Linked DNA regions of Homo sapiens: region 1 is linked to region 2. The links are contacts of gene promoters, found by promoter capture Hi-C in human tissues and cell types (Jung and others, 2019). All regions are on one chromosome and are shown on one strand. Each heading gives the region's core, a stretch centred on a gene start or on the middle of the fragment in contact. The rest is flanking DNA. Distances are from core to core; before and after follow the strand shown.

Region 1 (5,984 bases), core at 3,219-5,718, 65 kb after region 2:
GCCTTTAATTGATTGCTCTCAACTAATCTAAAAGAATGAGACTGTGGCCGGGCACAGTGGCTCATGCCTGTAATCCCAGCACTTTAGGAGGCTGAAGCAGACGGATATCTTTCTTGAGGTCAGCAGTTCGAGACCAGCCTGGCCAACATGGTGAGACCCCCCCCTCCCGCCGCCCCCGATCTCTACTAAAAATACAAAAAAATTAGCTGGGCATGGTGGCGTGGGTCTGTAGTCACAGCTACTCAGGAGGCTGAGGCAGGAGAATCGCTTGAACCCAGGAGGTAGAGGTTGCAGTGAGCTGAGATCACACTGCTTCACTCCAGCCTGGGTGACAAAGAGAGACTGCGTCTCAAAAAAAAAAAAAACAATGAGACCGTCATCACTAGATCACGGATTTCAAATTAACCATTCCACATATTAGTCGTTCTTCAAAGAATAAGTTTCTCTTTATTTAGTTAATATGCACAATAGATTACACATGGTGTAACAGAAGTAGAAGTAGATTTTTTAAAAAATTAGAGGAGTCCCAGGGTGCTGTGCACCTCTTAAGATCTGTTAATAATTCACCCTCTTGCCTTTATGGATTTCCAGTTAATTAATTCTCTACTAGCTATTCTTTGAAGAAAAATAAGTCTCTCTTATCCTATAGTAAACATATATAGATTACATATGCTACGTAGAAGTAGATCTAAATGAAATTAATCTCTTTTTAGCACTTATACATTATTCAAAATTATTTTAATTCCCCCTTCTCACTGCCTATGGTATCTGTATCTGATTATAAACAAACCACTATGTTCCTATATAGGAGAAATAAGCAGAAAGAGATACCTGCAGAAAAATTTGGGTTGCCTTATTGTGTTGTGTCTATCACCAAGGGCTCTTAAACTATTATTTGTACAGTCTTCCCCAAGATAAAGGACTGTGTGCTCATCCTACCTCTGGTCAGGAAGCTTTCTGGTGGTGTCTGTCCTGAAGCAAGCTCCGCCAGTTGTTCTTTGAGCCTCTTCACTTCAGCTTGGAGCTGGCTCACATTTCCTTGGGTGTCTTCATTTACTACTGCCTGTTCAGGAATTTTTTAAAAAGCATTAAAATAATGCTTTTTGAGTAGTATAGTCCTGTGTTTACATTTGTTTGGTATGATTTGTAGTGATGAACATCAAACAAAACTTCAAGACCACATCATAGTCAAAAGGACACAGGAATCACAGTGTGCTCAAGTGGGGAGGAAGCTTCCTTTTCTTGTGCCTTCAGACCTGGAGCCAGAGAGAGACAGCCCCAGCCAGGCTCTCTGCCCCCCAGCTGACTAGCCCTGAGCTTTTAGGCTGGGTCACCCTTAGGATCCGGGTGTGTTCACCTAATACTTCTTTCCCTGAGAACGACAGCCTTCCCCCACCCTCCCAATGGAGAAGAGCCAATACCTCAGTGAGTATCATTTCCCTTCTTTCCTAGCTCCCTACGGGGAAGGAGCCTAGCCTCTAAGTGCATGATGACTTGCAGGGTGGGCTTGAGCTTGGCAGAAGCAACCTTCTCCAGAGGAATCCGACCTTTATTTTTTAACAGCCCTCTTGGAAGGAGGGGTTGGTTTGACACTTCCTTTTTTTTTTTTTTTTTAATTTTTTACCACACTAAATGATTATCTTCATTTTCTTAAAGAAATGTCTTATTTAGGACAACTTCTAAAAGGCTAAAGGACTCACAAACAAAATGTGCCACTGTGGGGCAGGATGTCAAGAGTGGGGCAGGTCACACATGTGCGCCACTGCACTCCAGCCTGTTGACAGAGCGAGACTCTATCTCAAAAAAAAAAAAAAAGTTGATTAATTAAAAAAATAAAGCTTTAAAAAGGTCCACAAAGCCTAAAGGGTGATAACGAGTGCCAACAGCTGAGTACCAACCAGGTCAGAGGACTCAGTTGTGAAATACTCAGTACTCCAGCAAGGAAAAAACACCCTGTGACAGCCCCAAGGTCTTCTGTATTCTCGCTGTAAGCCCAATTTGCTCACGGAAAAATTTAAATAGCACATCCTTAAACAAGTCCCAGATACTCTGGCACTTTCCACTGATAGGCTGCAAAGGGCTTACCATTGAGAGTGACTAGTAGAAGGCTCTTGGTTTTGTTCTTTTGTGTGTTAAGCAGCCATTTCCAGTTGCTTCTGATTCTTATGGCCAGCCTCATTACAAGGTACTACTGCACTTCTGACATCACTGTCCCATCAGTGACTTCATAATTCTAATTATTGCTGCAGTTCTATATCTCCAAAGACTTCTAGTAAATCTTAAGAGACTTAGGGTCAGGAAGCTCTAATGATTTTTCCTCCTCATCTTACTAGTACTCCATAGTCCAAGGAAATAAAATAAATGACTAGATCTATAGTCTTCTGATTTACCCAGGGAAAGGGGCAACATGGACCTCCTGATTTACAGCCAGTTGGTCTGAAAGCACAGATAGGACAAGCTGGGGCTTGCAATTGGCATCAGAAGTTGGGCGCAGTCTTGTAGGACTGAGCCCTGAACCTGTGAGATCTCACCCTATCTCCAGACATAAAGTGTCAGGATGGAACTGAATCAGAAGACACTCAGCTGATGTCTGCTGCAGAACTGATTGATTGGCTGTTGGCAGGAAGAAAGACTCACATACTTAATTTGCTTTCCCTTAAGAAAAAATTTGTCAGCTGGGTACAGTGGTTCACACCTGTAATCCCAGCACTTTGAAAGGATGAGGCAGGAGGACTGCTTGAACCTAGGAGTTTGAGACGAGCCTGGGCAACAAAGTGAGATCCTACCTGTACAAAAAATAAAAAAATTAAGGCCAAGGCAGACGGATCACGAGGTCAGGAGATCGAGATCATCCTGGCTAACACGGTGAAATCCCGTCTCTACTAAAAAATACAAAAAATTAGCCGGGCGTGGTGGTGGGCGCCTGTAGTCCCAGCTGAGCAGAGATCGCACCACTGCACTCTAGCCTGGGTGACAGAGCAAGACTCTGTCTCAAAAAAATAAATAAATAAAAAATAAATAAAATAAAAATTAAAAAAATAAAAAAATTAGCCTGGCATGGTGCTGCATGCCTGTAGTTCCAGCTACACAGGAGGCTGAGGCAGGAGGATCGCTTGAGCCCAGGAAGTTGAGGCTAGAGTGAGCTGTGTTTGCACCACTGCACTCCAGCCTGGGTGACACAGCAAGACTGTGTCTCAAAAAAAAAGAAAAAACTAGTCAAGCAATAACAACCATAAGATCTAACCTAGGTCTCTAATTACATGTGTGATATAGAAGGGTAGGAAAGATAAAATAGAAATTTTGCATACAATGAGAAATAAATAAAAGTTAATGTTAATATTAGGGCAATCACAAAAATGGCATACTGTAAGCTTTAGTATTTTTCTCATTTATTTAATGAAGTATACGCCAGTATTTTACCTTGTTTTTAATCAGCTTGGCTCTTTGAGCAAAGTTAAGTGTTGATAGGGTTTCCCCAAAACACCTGGATCCAGGATGAACATTTGCAATTATGGCTGTTTTGGCATTACCTCCAAGGGAATCCTGTTTAATGATAGGAATGAACATATTTTCGGTGAGAAATCACAAGACCTTTTTAAGCAAAGAAAATGTATACTCTTGCCACCAAGGCTGAGAGACTGTCCCACTATCAACTTTAGCATAACCAAAAGGAGCCCAGGAACCCAAGGATCTACTTTACCCGTAGTAAGAAGGTAAGTTTGGAGTCTCTGTAGCAAACATGTCTCTGTTTTCCATTACCCACGTCGACAAGTGCTGTAATCACTTGGCCCAGGCAGCTCAATGATCGATTTATGTTACCTGCTTCCTAAAGTGTTGACGGAAAAGAACAAAAATTTAGGTACGTTGGTTACTCTTTGGTATTTTGAATGAAAATATATCTAGCAGAGGAAAATTCTGGATGAAAAGGCAAGTCAGGGACAATGTTAATAAAGAACAACTATTCAACAAATAAAAAAGAAGTGCTGAACTATCCCTAACCTTTTCCTATTTGATGTACACTGTAATTTTAGTATTAGAAGACAAACACAGGCTGGCACTGTGGCTCATGCTAGTCATCCCAGCACTTTGGGAGGCCGAGGTGGGCAGGTTGCTTGAGCTCAGGAGTTGGATACCAGCCTGGGCAACATGGCAAAACCCCATCTCTACAAAGAAATACAAAAAACTGCTGGGCATGGTGGCACATGCCTGTAGTCCCAGCTACTTGGGAGGCTGAGGTGGGAGGATCACTTGAGCTTGGGAGGTGGAGGTTGCAGTGAGCTGAGATTGTGCCATTGCACTACAACCTGGGTGACAGAGTGAGACCCTCTCTCAAAAACAACAACAAAAAAAGACAAACACAAAAATCATGCAAAGAAAAAAAATATTAATGTCACTTCATGATTGTAATAGTTTGAAACCGAGCTATAAAGACCAGAAAAAAATAGGGAAAAAAAAGCTAGAGTAGTGCATTAATAGGTACTTTTTTCAATCCTTTTATGCTAAAATATTTAAGGGTATAATGCCTAATAACTCACCCATACAGCCCCCAAAGCCACTGATGAACTTATTTGAGGAGAATATTCAGTTTAATTCTGTAAAGGATAATAAAAACTACTTTAAAACAGAAGCTTGGTGGGGGGAAAAAATGAGCTAAATACGTTACATTAGATTTTTACTGTAGGTAGCATATTTTGAAAACTGGGTCTGCAGTGGAAGGAGTATACAAAAAAGAGAAAAAGTCAAAATTATAATGCAAGATGTACTGAATTCAGAGTCACTGCTGTTATCATTCAGTAAATCAGAAAGGTGGTTAGTGGCATGGTTGAGAGTACTGTAGCAGCTCGGTTTGAATCTCAGCTCTACCTTTATTAGCTGTGTGACTTCGGTTTCTTTAACTGTAAAATAGAAAGAATAGCACCTACTTCCCAGAGTTGTTGGGAAGGTTAAATGAATTAATATATGTAAAGCATTTTAGAACAGACTTGGTATATGTCCTATTATAAGCATATGCTTTTTTTGACACAGAGTCTCACTCTGTCACCCAGGTTGGAGCACAGTGGCACAATCACAGCTCACTGCAATCTCGACCTCCTGGGTTCGAGGGATCCTCCCACCTCAGCCTCCCAGGTGCTAGGATTACAGGCATAAGCCACCATGCTCAACCCATATGCTATATTTATTAAGCCTCATATCTCAATAGAAATATGAGCTTTAGGCTGGGCGTGGTGGCTAACGCCTGTAATCCCAACACTTTGGGAGGCCAAGGAGGGTGGATCACCTGAGGTCAGGAGTTCAAGACCAGCCTGGCCAAAATGGTGAAACCCCATCTCTATTAAAAATACAAAATATTAGCTGGGTGTGGTGGTGGGCGCCTGTAATCTCAGCTACTTGGGAGGCTGAGGCAGAAGAACTGCTTGAACCAGAGAGGCAGAGGTTGCAGTAAGCCGAGATCATGCCACTGCACTCCAGCTGGGTGACAGAGTGAGACTGTCTCAAAACAAAAAAATATGAGCTTCAGATTGCCTGAAACTGCCTCAAATGTAGGTCAGGCGACTCAAATCCTCACTTTTAATGAAAAAAGTAGATCTCTTCCCTCATCCTTTCCAATTCCTCTCCCCTTGCCCATGTATATTCTAAACTATAGACTCTACAAATATTTTATTGACAATTCGTATTACTATATATATATATATATAAACACATATTGACAATACATATTACATAGAACCTCTGGTCCCACTGTTGATACCTTAGCCTAGGACTAGATACTTAACCCTTCATACCTGAAATATTAAACAGCGTAAGTGGTCATCTTTTTCTGTGGGCTCTCCCTTCTAAAATCTTAACAGCAGTGGGTCAGATGACTAAGTTTCTATAAAACAGGCTTTCTTCATGAATCACTTAGTTGCTAAGAAATGTTAAGTGTTTCCCAGTATTCGCAGAGTTGATACAAACTTGGCCTGGCACTCCTGGTCCTTGATAAT
Region 2 (5,788 bases), core at 2,476-4,975:
ATCCAGTTTTCCTCTTCTTGCCATAATACATAAGCATGACACAGATGGCCTGATACATCAGCATGGAACTGTCAGAAAGCCCCACCAGTCACTGCTTCTAGAGTTACATGACTGGCTTTTGTTTGGCAACAGGACAATAATTACAGCGTGGTTTCAAGTACCATACACAAAGCAGACCAACCCCAGGATCTCCAGCATCTGCGAAGGCTCACTGGGGTAGGCCTGGGAGGAAGAATCCAAAGCACTGTACAGATGATCAAAACACTTCCGGTAGAACACTGCTGCAGCTGCACCTCTCCTTACAGAGCCAGAGCCTGCTCCATCAGAGGCCTGCTTCCCTTGGCTGATGGTCAGAAGGCTGCACAACTGGATCGCCCTAGGATACAGTCCCACATGACATCCCAAGGCTGGGCCACCATCATGATCTTTCCAGCTGGTCCGTCTAGCCAAGTGGTGCTACTGCTGCTTGTGTGGAAGGGGCTTCCAGGTGGGTGGGAGCTTCCTGTGGATTAGGGTGAGTCCGCAGAGAATAAGGAACACTCCTCCCCACCACAAGACCTCCTGGCACTCTCCATACAGCACATAGCCCAGGAAGGCCTGCGAGACAAAGATAGCTGTGAGGGACTCAACTTCAGCAGGTGGGCACAACCTCACTCTCCTGGGACTGACTTCCTTCTAAGGGTGCCAGGAGGAAAGGTCTGGAGCCAGAAGCCTTGGGCTTGAAACCTAGCTGTCACCTTCATCAAGTCACTCTATTCAATCTCCCCTGCATGAGTGGAGAGGCTACCTCCCTCACTGCACTGGACCTCAGCAAAGTACACAAGAAAGACCCAGCAGATGCCAGCAGGTAGACACAGCAGGTACATGGTATTTGTTTCTCCCTCAACTCAAGATTGACTACGCTCAGCTCCATCTTGTCAACCTCAGACTACACAGGGCAGAAAAGTTTCTGGGAATCCCAACCCTCTAAATGCCATGGAGCCTTGAGTACACAGAACCCTAGGAAACAGCTAGGATGCACAGTGACTTCAGAATGAGGGCTCCACCCTGGAGGAACAGCAAGCAAGTAGGCTTTTTACTGTCAGGCTTCACTCATATCTAACTTAAGAATTCTTCCATGATTAGAATTACATTTGCTCCATGAATAGAGCACTCATCCAGGGGTCAAGCCACAGCCCAACCTCTGCTTCAGTTCCTGTCCTTTCTCCTGTCTGGGAAAGGAGGGGTTATCCAAAGACAACTCACCCAGAACCCAGATTTAGGACAAGAGCACCACACCCTCAGGCTACTCACCGAGCTGAGGATATTTGAAAAAGTCACTGTGACAGATGCAATGGCTGAAGACATGGAGAAACTGAGGCCCCGGCTAAAGAAGGTCCACATCAGAGAATTGGTGCTCGCCATCACAATAATGCCTAAGACGCATAAACCCATGCTCACCTGCAGGAGAAAGTGTCACTGCAGCCACGTCCACCCTGGGCAGCAACCTGCAGACCCCCTCAAAGCACACCCAGGACTGTGGTTGCTGGCACCCAGGCTCCTACTGAGCTCCCACTACAGCTCAGAGGGCCTCAGAGCTTTCCTGCACAGGGCTTCACTTAACCCTCAGTGGGCAGCAGACCCATCTTACAAATAAAGCAAATTCAGAGAAGATACTCATTTGGCCACCTTGCTGGCCATATGATCTTGGGAAGAAGCAAAATGCTAATCCAAAGCCAGTATTTTCTACTGAACACCGGCCCCTTATTGGTCCCACAATGACCAGTGCTTGAAGATCAGTCCCAGAGGGCCAAGTAGTTCTTACTCCGTAGGTAGTAAGCCTAGGGTAGAGTTCTTATTTCTTGAGATCAGGCAAAGCATGAATTAGCAATGTCTGCTCTGTATTCCCACCCCCAAATCCTATACAAGTTACAGCCCACTAAGGCTGACCCCCTCTGGGTATTCTTGAGCTTTTACTCTGTGTTAGGTCCTGGGCTGTGTTTAAGCATTCTCATTTATTCCTTAACTTCATTTTACAGATAAAGAGCCAGGGGCATTAAGTAACCTTCCTAAAGTGCTACAGCGGTGAGAGCCACCAGGCTTCACAAGCAGGCAGTGTACCTCCATGCTCTTAACTAGGGCACAGCCTTGCCTGAGGGAAACACCACCTCAGACTATTTAGTGATCCCAGACATCCCTTGGAGAACTTGCAGGTATTTTCTTTCTTTTTTTTTAAAGGAGAAAGTCTCAAGAGAAGAGAAGATCTTTAGAAGCCTCCTACACAAAGGATATGCAGTCCCCCTTGCTTGGTGGTGAGTTAGAAACCTGCCTGGAGACAAGGCGGCGGGGGGGGGGGGTGCGGAATCTAAATATACTTATTACTTGTAATGGTTTCTCAGCAGCTGAACACATAGTGTCTTGAGAAAAAGGTGCTTGCTTATAACTTACACCAGGGTGTTCAATTTTTTGGCTTCCCTGGGCCACACTGGAAGAACTGTCTTGGGTCACACATATAATACACTAACACTAATGATATATGATGAGCTAAAAAAAAAATAATAAATCGCAAAAAAATTCATGTTTTAAATTTGCAAATTTGCGTTGGGCCGCGAGTTGGACAACCTTGTCTTACACAAAGCAGCATATGGGCCAGTGGCAACCTGCTTAAAGGGTTATGAAGGTCTAGTTCCTGACAACAAACTTCACGGCCCATACAAAGTTATTCATTTTACTTTCGACCACTTACCCCATGAACTACACCCAATGGGATACTAACCTGAAGCATGGCAGCTACTACTGGATTAGCCCTAAATAGGCTTAACCCTAAATAATCAGTGACCACTGTCCAGGTCAGAGGCTAACCTTGGGCTGCAGACGCAATGAAACCCCTATAGCAAGCAGAGGCTGGTCTACGACGTGGGAGGGAGAGGCAGAGATACACCTTAGCAGACGCCAGGATGCAAGTTTAGGAGTTCTCAGCGTCAGGAAAACATCCAGAACGTCTCTGTCAGTATCCTCTTATGCCTACAGTATCCCAAACTCCCAATTTTCCTGGTAGTGGGGCAGACTGGTCATCTGGTCACAACACCCGTTAATTACGGAGTAAAGGGATGGGCAAGAGGCTTCTCACCTTAAGAGTCACGTGGAGAGAAATGCTCAGGCACAAGGGACTTAAAATGAGAGGTAGAGGGTGGATGTAGGAGGTGTAGTTCTTCCCCGAGAGCGAACTAGCCCAACCGGAGAAAAGGTTTTAGGTCCCTGGTAAGGGAAGAGGCCTCAGTCCCCGACGTCTCTTACCACCTACACTGGACGAGGGTTTGGCGTGATTAGAGGCGAAACACTCTCTGCCACCCCAGCTGACCGCAGCGCCGCCCGCGGCCCGGGGCCCCGGCGGGACAGACCGGCGAGGGTGCGGCGGCGCCCTGCGCCCACCCCCGCCCCACCCCAAGAGCCCCGCGGGCCCCGCAGCGCCCCTCCTCCGCCCAGCGGCGCCCCGCCCGCCCGCCCGCAGCAGCAGCACCAACAGCGCCCCGGGCTCGACCTCGCTGCCGAAGGCCAGCTTGGCGGAGGCGGCGGCCAGGGCCCCGAACGCGCCGGCGCACAGACAGTTGAATACGCCCCAAAAGCGGCGCCGCATCGCACCCGCCTGGAGGTGCGGAGGGAATTCCGCGGGGGTGTCAGGGTACGCGGTCGCGGACACGGCGCCGCCCGGAGGCCCCGGCCTCTCGGCCATGTTGCCTGCTGACACCGTGCCTGGCACCCGCTGCCCGCAGGGCAGAGCGCGCGCCGCGATTGGATGGCAGCCTCACGTGACGCGACGCTCCTGTGACGCCACGCTCCGGCAGGCCCCTTGGGAATCGCTCTCCGGCGCCTCGGAGGGGGCGGGCCAGGTGGCAGAGACCCTGGGCTGTGGCGGCCTCCGGCCTAACCTGTAGTAGGTTTGTGCTCTGGGGAGGACGTCGGGACCCGAGGCCTGAGGCCAAGCCGGGTACTGTGGACGCTGTGGTAGAAGGTAAACTTCTCGCGGCTTAGCCGTCTCCATCCCGGCCACCCGGCTCCCGGTGAAACTTATTAAAGATGCCTAACGGGCCCCGCGCCGGCCCACCGAGTCCATCCACGTCGACCAGGCTTCTCCGCTCCACCCTCCAGCCTGAGGACCGCCGGACCAAGAGATGCCTCGGCAGAGGGCGCTGGGGACCTCCAGACCCAGAAAGACGCCAGAGCCCCATATGGGGACAAGCGCATCACAGAAAACCGAAAAAATGAGGATCTGCGATGAGAGGAAGACAATGATCCATAATCAAGCCACGCAGAATCAACATGACTTCTAATCTCCTGTTATACTTACGTATGTTTAGAATGTTTCCGGCTGGGCGTGGTGGCTCATGCCTGTAATCCCAGCACTTTGGGAGGCCGAGGCGGGTGGATCACCTGAGGTCGGGAGTTCGAGACCAGCCTGACCAACATAGAGAAACCCCGTCTCTACTAAAAATACAAAATTAGCCGGGCGTGGTGGTGCATGCCTGTAATCCCAGCTACTCGGGAGGCCGAGGCAGGAGAAGCGCTTGAACCTGGGAGGTGAAGGTTGTGGTGAGCTGAGATCATGCCATTGCACTCCAGCCTGGCCAACAAGAGTGAACTCCGTCTCAAAAAATAAAAATAAAAATAAAATGTTCCCATTTAAAAAGTACACGTCCTTGAAAATAAAGTGTTGAAATGTATAAAGTGCTATTTCCACTCTCCAGGAAAATCAGTGTTAATAGAGCATTTTTCTATATGTCTATTTAGTTATATATAGTTAAAATGTTAAAAAAATTATAGAATATGTATATGCATTTTTTAAACAAAAATGATTTCACAGTTGAACATACTGTTTAGCAGCATTCTTTTTGTATCTTCTGTTTAGCAAGTTTTTATGGAAGTCCTTCCACACCATGCTGCTTCTCTCACAGGGTGGTTTTGTGGCTCAAATAAAAGCACGGATAAGGCCAGGCACGGTGGCTCACGCCTGTAATCCCAGCACTTTGGGAGGCCAAAGGTGGGTGGATTACGAGGTCAGGAGTTCAAGACCAGATTGGTCAAGATGGTGAAACTCCATCTCTACTAAAAATACAAAAAAAATTAGCTGGGTGTGGTGGCGGGCACCTGTATTCCCAGCTACTTGGGAAGCTGAGGCAGAGAATTGTTTGAACCCAGGAGGCAGAGGTTGCAGTGAGCCGAAATTGCACCACTGCCCTCCAGCCTGGGTGACAGAGTAAGGCTCTGTCTCAAAAAAAAACACGGATAATTTCAGTAACGCCAATATGGTACAAACTGTCCCATTTTGCAGATGAGGAAATTGAGGCTCAGAGGTCTCACTGCACCACTCCATTGAGTAAGGAGCTGCTCAAAGATGATACCCTCTGAAAGCTCTTATCAGGAAATCAAGAGGTGTTGCATTGATCAACTCTGCATGCTTTAAAGAATGTAAAGCAAATTTTCTTAGAACAAACGATGCCTCTACTAGCACTAAAGGTTAAGCATCTCAGAGCCACCTCCTCTGTAAAGCCGTCTCTGCTACTCCCCTACCTTTGTACCAGTCCTGTGGTTGTTCCTCTGGTTGTCTGTTTCTCTGCTAGCCTGCAAGCTCCTTGAGGGCAGGGACTACATCGTTGTTAATCTCCAGGTCCCCAGCCCTGGTGATGATGGCTGAAGTGATGCCATCCTCAGACACTGCTGGGAAGTGATTTCTGCCTCTAAGAAACTCCTGTGTACACACATCACCTAGGGATCTTGCTAAGATGAAGATTCTCATTAGGTCTAGAGCTAG

The links. Contacts are between HindIII fragments. The study calls those that stand out against the background at their distance.
Region 1: a fragment that was not itself captured here is called in contact with the fragment with the promoter of TMEM42 in region 2 in 3 of the 25 tissues and cell types used here (bladder, hippocampus and mesenchymal stem cells).

The regions. Positions count from the first base shown.
Region 1 is chr3:44,795,393-44,801,376 of GRCh38, reverse strand. It overlaps KIF15 (kinesin family member 15), which reads right to left. Exons shown (of 35, transcript NM_020242.3): 9 at 3,701-3,826; 10 at 3,421-3,543; 11 at 940-1,063. Among named protein-coding and RNA genes, the nearest start is that of KIF15, 37 kb to the right of the region's middle. The HindIII fragment of the contact is 3,726 bases long and covers 2,606-5,984 here.
Region 2 is chr3:44,859,849-44,865,636 of GRCh38, reverse strand. TMEM42 (transmembrane protein 42) reads right to left here and starts at 3,725. Exons shown (of 3, transcript NM_144638.3): 1 at 3,521-3,725; 2 at 1,294-1,440; 3 at 1-597. The coding sequence starts at 3,712. The coding sequence ends at 457. MIR564 (microRNA 564) reads right to left here and starts at 3,749; the gene lies at 3,656-3,749. It also overlaps a transcript of KIF15 not described here. RefSeq lists silencers at 3,216-3,265, 3,596-3,645 and an enhancer at 3,676-4,265. The HindIII fragment of the contact is 28,079 bases long and covers 1-5,788 here.